Linked DNA regions of Homo sapiens: regions 1, 2 and 3 are each linked to region 4. Evidence: promoter capture Hi-C in 16 types of primary human blood cells and fetal thymus (Javierre and others, 2016). All regions are on one chromosome and are shown on one strand. Each heading gives the region's core, a stretch centred on a gene start or on the middle of the fragment in contact. The rest is flanking DNA. Distances are from core to core; before and after follow the strand shown. Region 1 overlaps CARD9 (caspase recruitment domain family member 9). Region 2 overlaps CCDC187 (coiled-coil domain containing 187). Region 3 overlaps QSOX2 (quiescin sulfhydryl oxidase 2). Region 4 holds the start of UBAC1 (UBA domain containing 1).

The links. Contacts are between HindIII fragments. The CHiCAGO score rates a contact against its expected background, and 5 or more counts as called.
Region 1: a fragment that was not itself captured here is called in contact with the fragment with the promoter of UBAC1 in region 4 in 4 of 17 cell types (naive B cells, total CD8 T cells, total B cells and 1 more); the score reaches 7.2 in naive B cells.
Region 2: a contact is called between a fragment that was not itself captured here and the fragment with the promoter of UBAC1 in region 4, in 9 of 17 cell types (naive CD4 T cells, total CD8 T cells, total B cells and 6 more). The highest score is 7.3, in naive CD4 T cells.
Region 3: a contact is called between a fragment that was not itself captured here and the fragment with the promoter of UBAC1 in region 4, in 17 of 17 cell types (total CD8 T cells, naive CD4 T cells, naive CD8 T cells and 14 more). The highest score is 21.8, in total CD8 T cells.

What each region holds. Positions count from the first base shown.
Region 1 is chr9:136,364,476-136,368,381 of GRCh38, forward strand. It overlaps CARD9 (caspase recruitment domain family member 9), which reads right to left. Exons shown (of 13, transcript NM_052813.5): 8 at 3,162-3,353; 9 at 2,741-2,782; 10 at 2,325-2,370; 11 at 666-742; 12 at 8-84. LOC124902309 (a long non-coding RNA gene) reads left to right here. Exons shown (of 2, transcript XR_007061863.1): 2 at 3,149-3,906. Among named protein-coding and RNA genes, the nearest start is that of DNLZ, 2.7 kb to the left of the region's middle. RefSeq lists enhancers at 1-736, 737-1,626. The HindIII fragment of the contact is 358 bases long and covers 1,597-1,954 here.
Region 2 is chr9:136,263,947-136,267,412 of GRCh38, forward strand. CCDC187 (coiled-coil domain containing 187) reads right to left here. Exons shown (of 26, transcript NM_001378188.1): 16 at 3,438-3,466; 17 at 2,010-2,097. Among named protein-coding and RNA genes, the nearest start is that of QSOX2, 20 kb to the left of the region's middle. RefSeq lists a silencer at 3,291-3,450. The HindIII fragment of the contact is 7,726 bases long and covers 1-3,466 here.
Region 3 is chr9:136,239,890-136,243,628 of GRCh38, forward strand. All of the region lies in intron 1 of QSOX2 (quiescin sulfhydryl oxidase 2), which reads right to left. Among named protein-coding and RNA genes, the nearest start is that of QSOX2, 4.1 kb to the right of the region's middle. RefSeq lists a silencer at 68-197. The HindIII fragment of the contact is 3,219 bases long and covers 354-3,572 here.
Region 4 is chr9:135,959,251-135,963,014 of GRCh38, forward strand. UBAC1 (UBA domain containing 1) reads right to left here and starts at 2,123. Exons shown (of 10, transcript NM_016172.3): 1 at 1,775-2,123. The coding sequence starts at 1,912. RefSeq lists silencers at 1,733-1,852, 1,863-2,272 and an enhancer at 1,743-2,243. The HindIII fragment of the contact is 10,703 bases long and covers 700-3,764 here.

The sequences.
Region 1 (3,906 bases), core at 526-3,025, 400 kb after region 4:
CGCCTACCTGCGGTAGTTCTCAAAACTCTCTTTGAGGCGCCGCCGCTCCTTCTCGGGCGGCTCCCCGCTGCTCAGGCCTGCGTCCTGGAGAAGGGGGAAGGCTCGGGCTCCGGCCGGCTCCCCTGAGGGAACCCGTCCTTCTCACCCGCCCCCCACTGGCCCCTGTAACTGCAGACTGGTTGGGAGGCGAGGAGCCCAGACAGCCTCAGCTCAGCGCCAAGCTCTCCCTGTGGGACCTGCCTGTACCCCTGGAGGTGAGCCGGTGTGGGTAGCCTGCATTTCAGATGCCAAGACACACCCAGGAGGCCAAGCCACGGCTCCAGCCTGGGGTCCGGGCCATTGTTTCTACAACAAAGCCCGAGGTGGTGCTTGCTCTCAGGACTCCTGTGTTCACCTCCTCATCCACTGTAAAGGCCCTCGGAAAACCAGGACCAGGCACATCCACGTCCAAAAAGCCCCCCAAGCTGCTGCAGTGCCCAAGAAAGGGGGATCCACTTCGCAGCCCAGACACCGCACCCCGAGCACTGTGGGCAGAGACCTTGTGGTCACTCCTCAGCTGTCGTCGGGGCCACCGCAGGGGGTGCCCAGGGCAGGGAGCCACTCTCCCTGTGATCGGTCACCCTGAGGCCCACGGCTGGGAGGACCCCACCCCGGGGAAGCCTTACATGGGGGTTCCGCAAAACCTGCTCCTGGTGCAGAGCTGCAAAGGGCTGTTTCGGGCTCCCCCCGCCGGCAAGGCAGCCTGGAAAGGAGAGTCGTGCCTGTGGGACCTGCCCATCTGCTGGGCCACGTATAGCACGGCTGCCCCACCCCTCCCCGGCATTGCAGTGGGGCTGTCTTCCAAGGCCTGGTGGGATCCCCACATGGGTCCAGTGTAGACTCTGCTTTCTGTAGATGAGACTGAGGCCTTATGGCCTCGCTTGCCTGTTCATTGCTCCAGGAGGCCGCCAGATGCCAGCCCAGGCCCAACGCTCCCGCCAGTGACCATCCCTCCCCCGAGCTGGCTGCCTGCCAGGGAGGAACGCCTCCCAGACCTCGGGGGAACTTAAACCCTGGGCCTGAGCAGCACCGTCCCCCATCACTCCAAAGCATCTGTGGGCATGGCGGCCCTGGGGAGAGAGTTGGGGACAGCTACAGTGGCTGTCTGGGTCCTCCTGAAGTGGGGGCAGGGGTACTGCAGCAATTGGGAGAGAACCTTCAGGCGGCTGGACCCCCTCAGAAACCGCCAGGACCTGGGCAGACCAGGGATCAGGACCCTTGGGCAGAAACCACGCACGTCCAGTCTCAGCCCCACTGCGGTGAGGGCCAGGCCAGGGCTGTCCTGGCCATTGGCAGCCCCTTAGAGCCAGCCCCTCCCCTGCTCACCCTCCAACCTTCACACCTGCCCCTGCTCCTGCCACAGCCACCCAGGGGGATGGGGGCAGTGCCTGAGCCGGACTCCTGGGTCCTGCTCGCCTCTGTGCCTACATGGGGGCTTGGCATCCCCATGTTCAAGTGTTCTGAGCTGCAGCCAAAGGCGCTGGTCTTCACTTCCCCGTCTGCGGCTCCTCCTTCCCCTTCCGCCTCTGCTTGGAGGCCACGGCCTGGTACTCAGGAAGCTTGTCCAACTCCGGTGCAGCCTCCCAGGACCCCTCTGCTGGGCCCTCCCCAACCCCTACCTGACAGCACCTTCAGTGCAAACACCTACCTCATCACCACTGCCCACTCCTGGACACTCGGGAGCTGCTCCCAGCTAGCCACCCAGTCCTTCCCCCAGACAGGCAGAGGGGGCCTGCCCTGCCCGCTAGAAGCCCCTGCCACTGCCTTACCCCCACTGCACCGGGACACAGCAGGCCCTTGGCCACCCCTGCATTCAGCCCTTTCCCTCAAGCCACGTGGGGCCCCATCTCGCCCCATCTTCTAGCTTCATGCACCTGGTCGTTCGCTCGTTACCACCTCCCTCTGTCCAGGAGGAAGCTTGGAGCAGCCAGGACTGGGCCTGCTCACCTCTGCACCCCGTGGGGGCTGCCCAGAGGGGCCCCACACTCTCAGGACGGTGGGCCTGCTCACCTCTGCAGCCCATGGGGGCTGCCCAGACCCCCACACTCTCCACCCCAGGGGACACTTGTCCCACTAGCTGGGGCCCTGGGTTCCAGCTGGGCTCTGTAGTTTGTTCTCTAGGTGACCTTGACCATTTTACTTATCCCCAGCCCCAGTTTCCCTGTCTGTGGAGTGGGGGTTGTGGGGGTTGACACAGGCATTGCGGCACGGGCTGCCTGTGCTGAAGATGGGCCTCACTTGGGGAAGCTGGGAGGCCTCTGGGTGTACTGCTGTCCCCACCTCACCTTTGTCTGAGAGCTGGGTGTCCTCCAGGTCCTGGGGGAGTGAGAGCTTCCAAAGAGAGTCAAGATGTCCCATTAGGCCACTTCGCCAAGGACTGGACCCGGCCACACTGCCCACCCCAGCCCTTGGCCCTCAGCTGGGTGCAGCCATTGCCGTCACCCCCTGCACAGAGCTTCTCAGAGACTCAGGTGCCCAGCAGACGGACATTGGGCGGCCAGGAGGTGGGCACTGTCCGTGCCTTACCTTACCCCTTGAGCCATCAGAGGCCTTAGCATTTGGCCACCTGCTCTTCCTCCACCCAGCCCAGCCCACCGAGCAGGGCCATGTGACGGGCAGTGTGGGGCTATGCCTGGTGGCAGCTCAGCCAGGACCCCAGGTGAAGGAAGGCCAGCCTCGTGCTGGCTGGGGTCTCACTCACCTCCTGGGACCTCCTGGGTGAGCCATCTTCCAGGTCGGAGCTCTGTGGTCATAGAAAATGGGGTGGGTGGGCTGTGAGGGCAGAGGGCTCCCCAGGCACAGGGTGGGCAGGGCACAGAGCGGGATCCTCCAGGGAGCCCTGGGCATGCCCTCAGCCACACCAGGCCCCCTCCATGCCCAGAACAACCTGCTAGGCTGCCTGATGGCCAGGCCCAGGACCCACCCCGGCCCTGCAGCCCCACTTCCTGCTGGGACCCTGAACTGCTCGTGTGCCCTCACCCCACTGCCAGGAGGGGTTTGGTTAGGTTGGGGCCCGTCACAGAGAAGGGTTGGGTCGGGAAGGCCGGGGCTGAGGCTCCGTGCTCCCCTGGCCCTGCATCCCACGCGCCGGCTCCCCTCCCTGCCGCAGGCCCCAGGCCCACCAGGACGAGCGTCTCCAGCTGCTGCCGCCTGAGCCTGCCCTCCACGGCCAGTAGCTGCGCCTCACACTGGAACACCTGCAGCTGCAGCTCATCCGCCTTCTCGCCCAGCTCCCGCACCTGCTTGCGCAGCGCGTCCTTCTCCTGCAGGCCCCGGGCGTGCTGTGCGTGCAGCTCCTCCCGCGTGGCTATGGCCTGACGGGACAGCACAAGGCCGACCCTCAGTGAGGGCCCCAAGCTTGCCCTGGGCCCTCGGCCCGGCCGCCCAACTCCAAGCAGAGGCTCCGGAGGACGTCAAGCCGCTGGGCGCGGAGGCTGGTCACAGCCCCTCCATTTGTGTGCTCTGCGGACACGAAGTCAGCACGTGGGGGATTGTAAATGTGACAGTTGTCCCTGCTGCCCTTCTGTCTCCTCCCAAGCCTGCACCCCCGGTGGACACAGCGTGTGCTATGTACCCCCACACGTGCACATTTGATAAATTTTGGACGCGGCTTGATATGGAGACCCTGACTGTCCATAGCTAAGCGTCCTTCGTGACCGCAGCACTCTTTACCACCCCTGTCCTCACTGCGGACACTGAGACGCAGGAGCGAATGTGCAAACACGACGGCTTGACCACCCCTGCAGCCGAGGCTGGGAGGCCCTCACCTAACCCCTTCTGCCCAGACTGGAGCAACGGCTGGCAGCTTCCCTAATCCCTGGCCAACGCGCTCCCGGGAAGTCCCGTGGGAGCCCCCGCCCTGGGAGC
Region 2 (3,466 bases), core at 290-2,789, 300 kb after region 4:
CTGCCGGGCCTAGGATACCCCCATGGCCTTGGGCTTCCCTGGGCTTGGTGGAGGAGGCAGCTGCGGGCGGCAGGAGGGAGGCAGGTACTCTTTCCCCAGGGCCCACGCAGGGCTGGCACAGGCTGGCTGGGCCTCGCCCTCCCTCTCTGCAGGCTCCAGGCACTGCCCCCACCCCGTCACTCCTTTACAACTGTTCTTTCTGTTCCCCACAGCGTCCCTGGTGGACGCACCCTCGGAACAACCTTGCACAGAGCCCAGGGCCGGGCCGGGCCGTTGCACACTCGCCCTGGGAGACAGCAGCTTCACTGGTGAGACGGGAAAGCGAGGCTCTGCCAAGCGGGTGTCTGGTCCATGGCCCCACTGGGGAGTCCCAGACCCCACCTCCACCACGGCATCTCTATCTGCGACACGCAGCCTGGCTGTGGCTGGGAGTCCCTGGCCCCGGCCAGCTCCAGCTCCTCCCGCCTGGGATCCCTGGGCAGCGCCTGTTCTGCCAGGCCCCGTCGTTGCCATGTGACATGCAGACCCCTTCTAAGCCCCTTTTGTTTCCCCGGCTCACGTTGTTCTCTGTGGTGCCTGCCTTTTCCTGTTTCTCCGTATCTGAGAGGACCTGTGCATGGGTCTGTGGCCTGGGTCTCCGCCCCCAGCTCCCTTGCCTGTAATGCCCCATGCCTGACACCCCAGGTCGTAGTATGTACAGGGCATCCAGGGCAGGGATGGGGATCCCGGGGCTTTCCAGTCAACATAAGGTCCTGCACTGACCCCATTTCCCAGCAGAGGGTCGTGGGCAAAGTAGTCCCCCACCCCAGCTCACCTTTTTTTTTTTTGAAACAAGGTCTCACTCTGTTGCCCAGGCTGGAGTGCAGTGGTGCAAGCTCAGCTCACTGCAGCCTTGACCTCCCAAGCTCAAGCAATCCTCCCATCTCAGTCCACCAAATAGCTGGGACTATAGGCATTGGCCACCTATAGTGGCAGATTTATTTTTTGTAGAGACGGGGTCTTGCTATGTTGCCCAGGCCTGTCTCACATTCCTGGGCTCAAGCGATCCTCCCACCTTGGCCTCCCAAAGTGCTGGAATTACGGATGAACTGCCTCACCCAGCCAGGTTCTTTTATCTGTACCAAGGGTGTTAGCGCCAGCCTCTGCCCCACAGCATGGGGGCACTGAAGTGAGGATGCAGGCACAGCGGCCGCGACCTGTGAGGAGCCCTTGAGCCTGTGACCTGGGCAGGGGCCGGCAAGGGTCCTCGTCCTGGCTCTCAGGCTTGCCCCTCAGCCTTGCTCTCTGCCGCAGGCAAAGCCCTGACTCTGGCAGCTTTTCCCCCCTCCACATGTGCCCCCAGCACCGACTTTCCCTGGGGGTCTGCTTCCTCCAGTCCCTGGTGACAACGATGGCAGGAAGGCAGGTGCAGCCACGGATGGAGACCCCTCCCTGCCAGGCGCGGCTAGGGATTCACCTGCACCACCCTCCCAGCCCCCATGCATGTGCACATCAGGCTTCTCCCCATTTTTCAGATGAGGGAACTGGGCTCGGAGCAGCTGGGAAAGTCCTCTGAGGGCGTACATGGCACACGTCCACCCGGGTAAGTGCTGGCTGCACTAAACTCTCCCAACCCCCTGCTTTACAGAGACCACAATTATTCTCTGGTTCCAAGGAGGAAACTGAGGCTCCAAGAGACAAAGCCACTTGCTCAAGGTGACATCCAGCAAAAGGCTGAGCCTGGTCTGGAGCCAGGGCCACAGGGCCACCCTCCACTCTGGCCACGAGGCCCCCAGAAGGCCGCAGACACTCCTTGTGTACAGGACCACGCTCCACCCTGGCCGTGATGCCCTCTTGGGCCGTGGACACTCCTTCTATACTTCGGGGTCCTGTATGGCCCTGGAGGGTGGCAAGGGCTTGGGAATTCTTTAGCTCTGTTGCTGGGGAATGTTCAGATTCCAGGCAAGAAGATGACACGACTGCCTCTGTGAGCCGCCCACCCTGACCCACCAGGCCTGTGCTGGCCCCACCTGCTCCTTCTCCAATCTGCTGAGGGCTTGCTGCTGCTTCTCAACCAGCGCGGCCAGCACAGCTCTGTCCCTCTTGCTGTCCAGGCACCTGGGGGGAGGTGGCAACATCACTGCCAATGTTGACAGCCCGTGCAAGTGGATATAGAAAGTCACAGACACAGCCAGCCCTGGTCGGCCACATCAACCTGGAATGCCCTCCCAAGGTGCAGGCACCAGGGAGGACGCAGCCATGCGTGGACAGGCTTGGAAGCCTTGGGGTGGCCAGATGGCCCAACCCGGGCTGTCACTCTTCCACCCCTCACAGCCACTTTTGGACTTTTGGGTCTAAAGAGACAAAGGCTAGCCGAGAGCCGCCCCTGCCACCCTGAAGGCCCAGCCCAGGCCAGTGGGTCCTCTGGGGAGGGAGGTGGGGGTCACCCACATCCACCCCCCACCCATCATGGAATAAACACCCTCAGTCTGGCCCGCTCAGACACCGGGTGAGGATGTTAACTGGAATCACCTTTCTGGAGACCAATGTGGCAGTATCAAGCGGCTTCCAGATGCATTCTCACTGACCCGGTCATTCCATTTCTAAGGTTTTACCTTAAGGAAATGATCTCTCTATCTTCATTAATAATGGCAAAACGTTGGAGACAACCTAGAGGCCCGGAGATCCGGGACAAGCGAAGGGAGTTACAGCCCTGTCTCTACGCCGGTGCGCCCTGTGTGTTATAGCGGTTATGTAGCTACACAGAAAGGTTTTCCTGACATATAAATTGAAAACGCAAGTTACAAAACAGCACGTACTGCCCATTTGCAAGTTGAAATAGCCATGTGTGTTTCTCCCCAAAACAGAGTATCCGCACTGGGCGTGGTGGCTCTCGCCTGTAATCCCAGCACTTTGAGAGGCCGTGGCTGGCGGATCAACTGAGGTAGGGAGTTCGAGACCAGCCTGACCAACATGGAGAAACCCCATCTCTACTAAAAATACAAAATTAGCTGGGCGTGGTGGCGCACACCTGTAGTCCCAGCTACTCGGGAGACTGAGGCAGGAGAATCCCTTGAACCTGGGAGGCGGAGGTTGCAGTGAGCCTAGATCGCGCCACGCGCCTCTACACTCCAGCCTGAGCAACAAGAGCGAAACTCTGTCTCAAAACAAAACAAAACAAAACAAAAAAACAAAGTATGCACAAAGATGATCTCAGAGGTCACCTTTGGAACGATGGGGGTATTTTTTTATTTGTGTATTGAGTACTTTACTGCCTTATGTAAGTTTCAGCAAACACCTATTACTGTTTGGACCAGTACCTCTTGTTTCTCAAAACGCTGTCGGGGCCACGGGCGGGACCCGGACGGGGCAGGGAGGGGGCGGGGCTACAGCAGGGCGGGGCTACAGCAGGGCGGGGCTACGGCGGGGCGGGGCCGGCGCCAGGCGCATGCGCTCACCCTCGTCGATGCTCCAGCCAGGCCAGCTC
Region 3 (3,739 bases), core at 713-3,212, 280 kb after region 4:
TGGCAACACAAAAGATATGGTAGTCCATATTATCAAATCAAATACAAAACACGTAAAAGGCTTAGCTTCAGGGCACTGGCCTCATTCAACGGGTACCCTCCCCTTCTCCTGCTCTGCCCACCTGTCTAGCTCTGAACCTCTAAAGCAGAATGCAAATGGCCTGCTTTCATTGGGCCTCTGGGGTTAGAGCCAGCTGAGAGGCACAGGGTGTGGCAGGGGCGGGGGTGCCCAACCCAGCACAGCCAGGGGGTTCCAAAGGGAGGCAGAAATGAGACCGCAGGCCTATTCTCACTTCTGCTCAAGAGCCTGGCTATTTTAGGACTCCAGTCTTAAAAATACTTGGGAAATAATTAAGCTTCTATATATAGTAGATTAACATTTATTTCAAATGTGCTTGTCAAATAACTCTAATACTGAATCTAACAAGGTTAACTCTTTACTGCTTGTCACGTTCTAATGAAAAAGTCTACAGAAGTCTAATGTATAGTCCAGTATCAAATCGTTCTAGAAAATGATTACAGTAAAGATAAAACAATCTCCCAAGTTGAAAGGCAACTAGGGAGCTGTGTTTAAGGGACAGAGGTCCACTGCAGCCTCTCCTTCCTGAGTCAGGGCCATGCTGGGGTCTCGAACTCCGCATACCAGTCCCTGGAGAAGACCCTCTCTGGGTGGAGCCCCCTCTTGGCTGAGCAAAGGTCTTCTTAGCTAAGCTCCAAGTTCAAGGCACAAGTTTGGAATAACAGGCCTGGGTAGAAATGAAACCCACCTAGCGACCAGGAGAGCCTAACACAAATCACCTAGAAGTTGCCAAGGGCTGGTCTGAGAAAACCCGGGCACACGCTACGGTCGCCTCATCTGGGGACTGAGGGCAGGGCTGGGTCCCATGGACTCTTGATCCCCAGCATTTAACTCAATTCTGGTAAACCAAAACTACACGTTCTTCAGCCTCGAAGGGTGCTCCGAGGTGACAGCAATTCCAATGCTGTTTATCTGTTGGTAGGGAATGACAGTCCCTCAGCCCGTCCTCTGTCAGGGAAGCCCAAGCAGTGCTTATGACCTGGGTCACCCCATGGCACGACGACCGGCATGACACAGCGGAGACGGCTCCCTGGACGTGGCTGTAAGGCCCTCTTAGCAAACCATCCCGTCTTACTTCAACAACAAGTAAGTGGCCTGGGTCTCTCGGTGTAGTCTCAGACGCACCAACCACAGCCACTGGGGAGGCCAGCGGGGAGCCCGGCTGCTCCGATGCACCATCCTTTCTGTAAAATACTCATGTGGTCGCCACAGCGGGGCTACATTAAGCCATTTCTGGGCCCGTAAGGAGACAGGAGGCCTCCACTGCCCAACTCTTCCTCCTTCCACCCTCTCCATCCTCCCGAGTCCAGTGAGCACCTGGCAGCTCTCACGGGCCGTCAGCCCCGCCAAATGCCCGCTGACACCTGCATGTCCCCCTCCCTCTGGCCCTTATTGTTTCTTTTTCCAGTAAACGGACAATGAGCCTGTGGGGAACACCAAGTTCTAATTCATCTCCAAGAAGCCTGCAGCCTAGTCGAGTAGACAAGAAACCAGACCAAGTGGGACAGAGGAGCTGGCAGCAATCACAGAATGCCCTACCCTTCCTTCAAGAGATGTCGGATGTGTCCAGCTCCCAACCCCCACCTGTCCTCTACAAAGACACAGGAATGAACTGCCATGGCTCCAGGTCACCCACACCTGGACACCCATCCCGGCCTGTCACTCAGCTGCGTGACCGTGACTATCCCACGCAACCTCACGTGCTATCACCTGCAACATGAGCGCCCCCGCACTCCTGAGGACAGGTGTGGGAGGACTCGGCCTGTTCCACGCAACCTCATGTGCTATCATCTACAACATAAGCGTTCCCGCCCTCCTGAGGGCAGGTCTAGGAGGACTCAGCCTGTTGTGGGTGGTGGCCTGCCCTGTTTTCTCAGGCTGACCAAGTGAAGGAGATGGGAGGGAACAGGCACCAGGGCCACAGAGGGCGCACGGGGACACAGGCCCTGCCTTTAGGGTGCACCCTCTTGTCCACTCAAGACTGCAGAGGCATTTCGGAGATCTCACCGGTCAGACGGGCCAAAGTGTAGCCCCAGGCCCTGGTGCCTCATCTTCCATCACAAACCCAGCAACCATCACTGCCAGGCAGATCTTCAGGAACCCAACAAGGTTTTGTTCTGCAAAGTACTTAGAAGTGACAGGCTTAAGCCAAATCTCCACAAACACTAGAATGACACTTGGTCACACCAAACAGTACAACTTTTGTTTCTTAAGCCACCTTCTTATAAGAAAAAACATTTATTTTCCCAGCCTTGAAAAAGCCAGTCAAGAGCTAAAGTTCAATCCAAATTTCTGAGGAAAACAAAGGTGCCCTGGCCTGTCCTGCTCCTTCCAGCTGGAGGCTCCTGGGAAGCAGAGCCCACACCTAACCATCCTCTCCAGCAGCCACAGGCATGAAGAACGCAGGGCGTGGCGGGCGCTGGCCAGGGGGACCAGTGGGAGAAGGCGGCTGGACACTCTAGGTAGAAGTGGGGGCCCAAGCCATGGCCTGTGTGCCCCCAGGGGATCAGCAGGATGACCTAAGTCACAGGTGATTGATCAGGGCCACAGGTGACTGATCTGAGTCAGGTCAACAGGGACATAAGAAAACATGAGAATGTTGACAACGGGAATGCCTGCATGCAGCCAGACCCCTGCACTGCCACGGGCAATGGGCGCCCTATCCCTGTGGGACAGCTCCACGCAGGGATGACAGACAGGGAGCCAGGCGCCAAGCAGACAGTTCTGAGCTGGCAGGTCTGGGCTGGGGCTGTGGAGAAGCAGGCATTTCTAACAAGGCCCTAAGTGGCCCTACTTTGAGAGTCCCAGCCTTAGAACAGCTCCGGGGACTCCTCAGTGCCAAGGGCCTTTCATCCCTTTCTACCCGGACTCTACCTCCCACAAGCCTCATGGGCACAGCTTGGCTCTCAGGACTGTAAACCAAAAATAAAATCCTGAGTCCCCTAACTGACTGAATTGAACCCCCTCTTGGCCAAGGAGACCCCAGGGCAACCTGAGGAAAGAAATTCCAGGCCCTGACGGCAAGGGAGGTCAGACACGCCTGGTTACATCACCTCCCTTTGGAGTTTAGGCAGAGCTGACCAGCGTGATGAAACAGAGATCACAGACAGACAGCACAGCCTCAGCAGCAACGACACCAAACTCCAGCCTGACTCGGGTACAGCACCACATGACAAATAGCACACCCTGCAGGAAATCAAAATATTTCACCCCCAAATACATTTATTTCCCTGACATATTTGAAATGGTCCTGCAAAGCTGTCTTTTGTGAGGGAAATTTGCATCTGTAGAGAATCTCCCTCCCTTTCTAGGTCTTTCCTGGATCTAGGAGACATTTAACGAGTCTGACAGCATTCAGGTCTGAAAAGAGACATTTACCCTCTATTCTCCCCAAGGCTGCTGCCTGTGAGGCTTCATCTACTTAACCTTGGCCTCCACAGCCCCTTTAGCTTAACTCAAGCATTTCTCTTTGCTGACTTCAAGTCTTTAGACAAAGCTTAACTCTTTCAATCAATTGCCAGTCAGAATCCACCTATGATCTGTAAACCTACCCCTTCCTATACCTTACATGTACTGATTTATGTCTCTCTGCCTATAACTTCTGTCTCCCTAAAATGTATAAAATCAAATTAACGTGACTGCCTAGAGCACACTTTCTTAG
Region 4 (3,764 bases), core at 873-3,372:
TGGTGCCACTCTAAGCCCGGCCCTGGACTTGTGGATATAAACCGAACCCCTGAGGAGCTTCTGTACTGGCTCAGGGAGGACACAGCAGCACCTCAGAGAAGTTTCTAGGGTTTTTTGTCTGGTTTTTTTTTTTTTTTTTTTTTGAGACGGAGTCTTGCTCTGTCGCCAGGCTGGAGTGCAGTGGCGCGATCTCATCTCACTGCAACCTCCGCCTCCCGGGTTCAAGCGATTACCCTGCCTCAGCCTCCCAAGTAGCTGGGATTACAGGCACACACCACCACGCCCCGCTAATTTTTTGTATTTTAGTTGAGACGGGGTTTCACCATGTTGGCCAAGATGGCCTCAATCTCCTGACCTCATAATCCGCCCACCTCGGCCTCCCAAAGTGCTGGGATTACAAGTGTGAGTTACCGTGCCCGGCCCAGAGAAGTTTTTTAAAATACACACAACTAGACAAGCAACACCACCTGGCTCAAACAGCCTGGATGCCCACGGAGTTACCGGCGCTGGAGCTTAGTGATGCCCCGATGGTTGTTCAGACGGCAAAATCATGCAGACTGGGGCAGAAGAAAAGCAAGAAAGCAGCCAAAACATACCGGCCCTTGAACGCAGGAGGCTCAGCCCCCTCCTTGGTGTGAATCCTGAGGCCAGCACCTCCCAGTTATTCACAGCCAGTGCGTTCCAGAAGGGGGCTTGCCAAGCTTGCCTCTGACAGTTCCAGAACTCCACAGAACCATGCTCACAAAAGCAACTCGAAAGTACTGTATGCGAGCAGCTACTATGGTAAGAACTGAAGTTTATCCTTAGAGACCACACTCAGCTCAAGTGTAACGCACTCAACCTGTCAACACAGATACGTCGTAACTTATCACATGGAGTCGCCACTAGAAAATTGCAGCCTCCTTCAACCTAAATTCTGCCAAGCCCTCAGATCATGTCAGGTATAGACAGGAGGTCAGTCTGACACACAGACAGGCTTCTTAGCTGACCTTACTGAGTCCTTTAGAGACTCGAGAACTAGTTCCAAAAATCAGCAACCTAAGGAACTAAATACACAGGAGTATTTCAGGTGAATAAACTTTAAAAAGTGTCTCCGCGAGGAGACCCTACTCCTGGGACTTCTCTCTTGACCAATTTTACCTCTGCAGAAAAGCAGGGGCGCAGGGCCTTGTCCCGCAGCGGCACTATTTCAGGGACTCCAGCTAAAAGGCACAGTGGCCTGGGGCCAGCCAGGAAAAGAGCTCCAAGCAGCCGGCTCTGCGGGAAAGGGGAAGAGGAAGGAGAAGGGGCCTCTTCATGAAGGAGCCTACGTTAATTCTCAGCTCTCAAAGATGCTGCTGAAAAAAAACCTCACCCCAACAGCAAAAAGGTACAACTGCCGGAAAGTCCCGAGGCCCTGCTCCGTCGGCGACTTCACTCTCCAGGCCTCAGTTTCCCGATCTGCCCCTACCTCCCTGCGTGGCTGCAGAGTTAACTGAGAGGCTGGCGTGTACAGGGCTCGGCCGGGCGGCTGGCACGGGGCGAGCGCTTAGTGACCGGAGTCCGCCGGCCGAAAGGCCAGGCCCGGGACGAGCGTCCAGAGGTGTGGGATCCGAAAGGGGGAGAGTCGGGCAAACGGGCAGGAGGCGCTGCCTCCACCCCCGGAGGAGAGGGCCTGGGAGCTGCGGACTGGGCGGCGGACCCCAGGTCGGGGCGGTTCGGGGACTGAGGCGGGGTCCGCAGTCGGAGGGGTCCGGAGCGGGTGTTGGGGGCAGGGGAGGGGGCCCGGCCTTACGTGCTTGAGGCAGCGCTCCTTGAGCTTCTCCACCGAGGTGTCCTCGGTGGCCTCCTCCAGCCACTCGGCGCCGTCGGACGCGCAGATGTGCAGCCGCAGCACCTTGCCCGCGAAGATCTTCTCCTCCTGCACGAACATCCCGCCGCCGCCGCAGGGGCCTGCGCCCGCCACCCGGGCCCCTGAAGGTCACCGGGAAGGCGGGCGGGGAGGGGGCGGGGCCAGACCGCCCGCGCGCTCCTTCGCTGGGCCGCCGCCCCGCCCCGGCTCCCGTCGGCCGGGCCGCCGTCACTCTCCGCGGCCTCAGCGGTCGCCTCGCTCCCGCCGCCGCAGCAGCCGCCGGGGGCGCGCCGTCGCGGCCGCACCGGAAGTGCGTCACGGGCGCGTCTGGCGCATGCCGGGAGATGTGGTTCTCGGACAGGCGCCTCGCTCCCGCCGCCGGGGGCGCGCTGTGGCCACCGCAAAGGAAGTGCGTCACGGGGCGCGCCCGGAGCATGCCGGGAGCTGTAGTTCTCTGGTAGCTTCGTTCCTCCCCGAGCTGCAGGCGGTTCCCACCCGGGGCACTCACCACGTGGGACCTCATGGGTTCTAAAGGTAAAATACACGCTGGATCCCAAAGAAGTAACGGGAAAAAGGAATGTAAGGCATCTCGATAATGTTTTCATATTGATTACATGTTGAAATAATATTTTGTATCTATTGAGTTAAGAAAAATATGTCATTAAAATTAATTTCACCTGTTTCTTTTAACCTTTTTAAGATAGAATTTTAAATTGCCTACATGGCTGCTGTGATATTTCTTTTGCACTGCACTGCTGTAGAACGGAGGCTCTCCAAAGAACTTGGCTTTAACAAGCCTAGGTCTTTCTAATTCACACGCAGATCAGAGAGTCACTGTTCCTGCGAAGCCTAGGTTTGCGGGGCACCCAGAGGGGAGGGAAGCCGCCCTTGGTGCAGGTGATGCCAGGCAGACTCATTTTCTGTGGGGTGTGACAAAGAGTCTTTGCTTGGCCAAACTTAAGCAGGCTCCTGAACCTTCTACATCATCTGTACACTTCCTTGTAAAATCCAGTTTTAGCGAAGAGCCTTGATAAGTGAGTTTAGCAAGAACTCCCAGCCTCAATATCAGATCACCCTGGACGTCTGGTCAGGTTCCTCGTCCCCCAGGTGCTGTCTGATATCTCCAGCCTCTCTTCAGCAAGAACCCTGTCAGGTCGGTTTAGCCAGAACCGCCCACATCCCTGATGTTTTCTCCTATTAATTTTCCATTCACTGACCCCACCCACTTGCCCTTGCTGTATTGGGAGTTGAGCCTGACCTCTCTCCCCACTGCAAGCCCCCTTGGCAGTGGTCTCTGTACCTAGCTCAACAGTCCTGGATAACGTCTTACTTACCATGCTCCTAAATATGAATTTTGTAGTTCAGGTTAGACCTGACACATTGACTGATCTGTACTCATTCATCCCATTCATTTAAAAAAACTTTACTGCGCAGAGATGAATAAGGCACAGTTCCCGTTCTCAGAGGTTAGCAATCTAACCGGGGAGGCTGTCTCTGCCTCCTGCCTGCAGGCTTTTATTCTGTCCACACCATTTTGCACACACATCCTCATTTTTCTCCTGTGATAATTCCAACCTCGTCCAGATTCCATGTGTCCAGTTCAGCACTTACTAATTGCCTCTCACAGGTGGGAGCCTCTGCTACTCAATGAAAATATGGTAGTGATTAAGACCAGACACCAGGATACAGTCCTGGAATGGGGCATTTTTAACGCAGGAAGCAGAAGTACCGACTGTTAGAGACCGCAGTGGAGGTGGTGGTAGTATCGTGGAAGCTGGTGGAGGAGAAAGGGGAGGAACACCAAGGTGGTGAGTGGAGAGTGGGGGAAGCTAGAGGGCTTGGAGGAGCCGGGTCAGAGCATTAAGACGTTGCTGTGAGAGCCACTAACGGTGTGACCAGGTGGCAGAATGAATGGTGGTGACTGTGGAGGGGA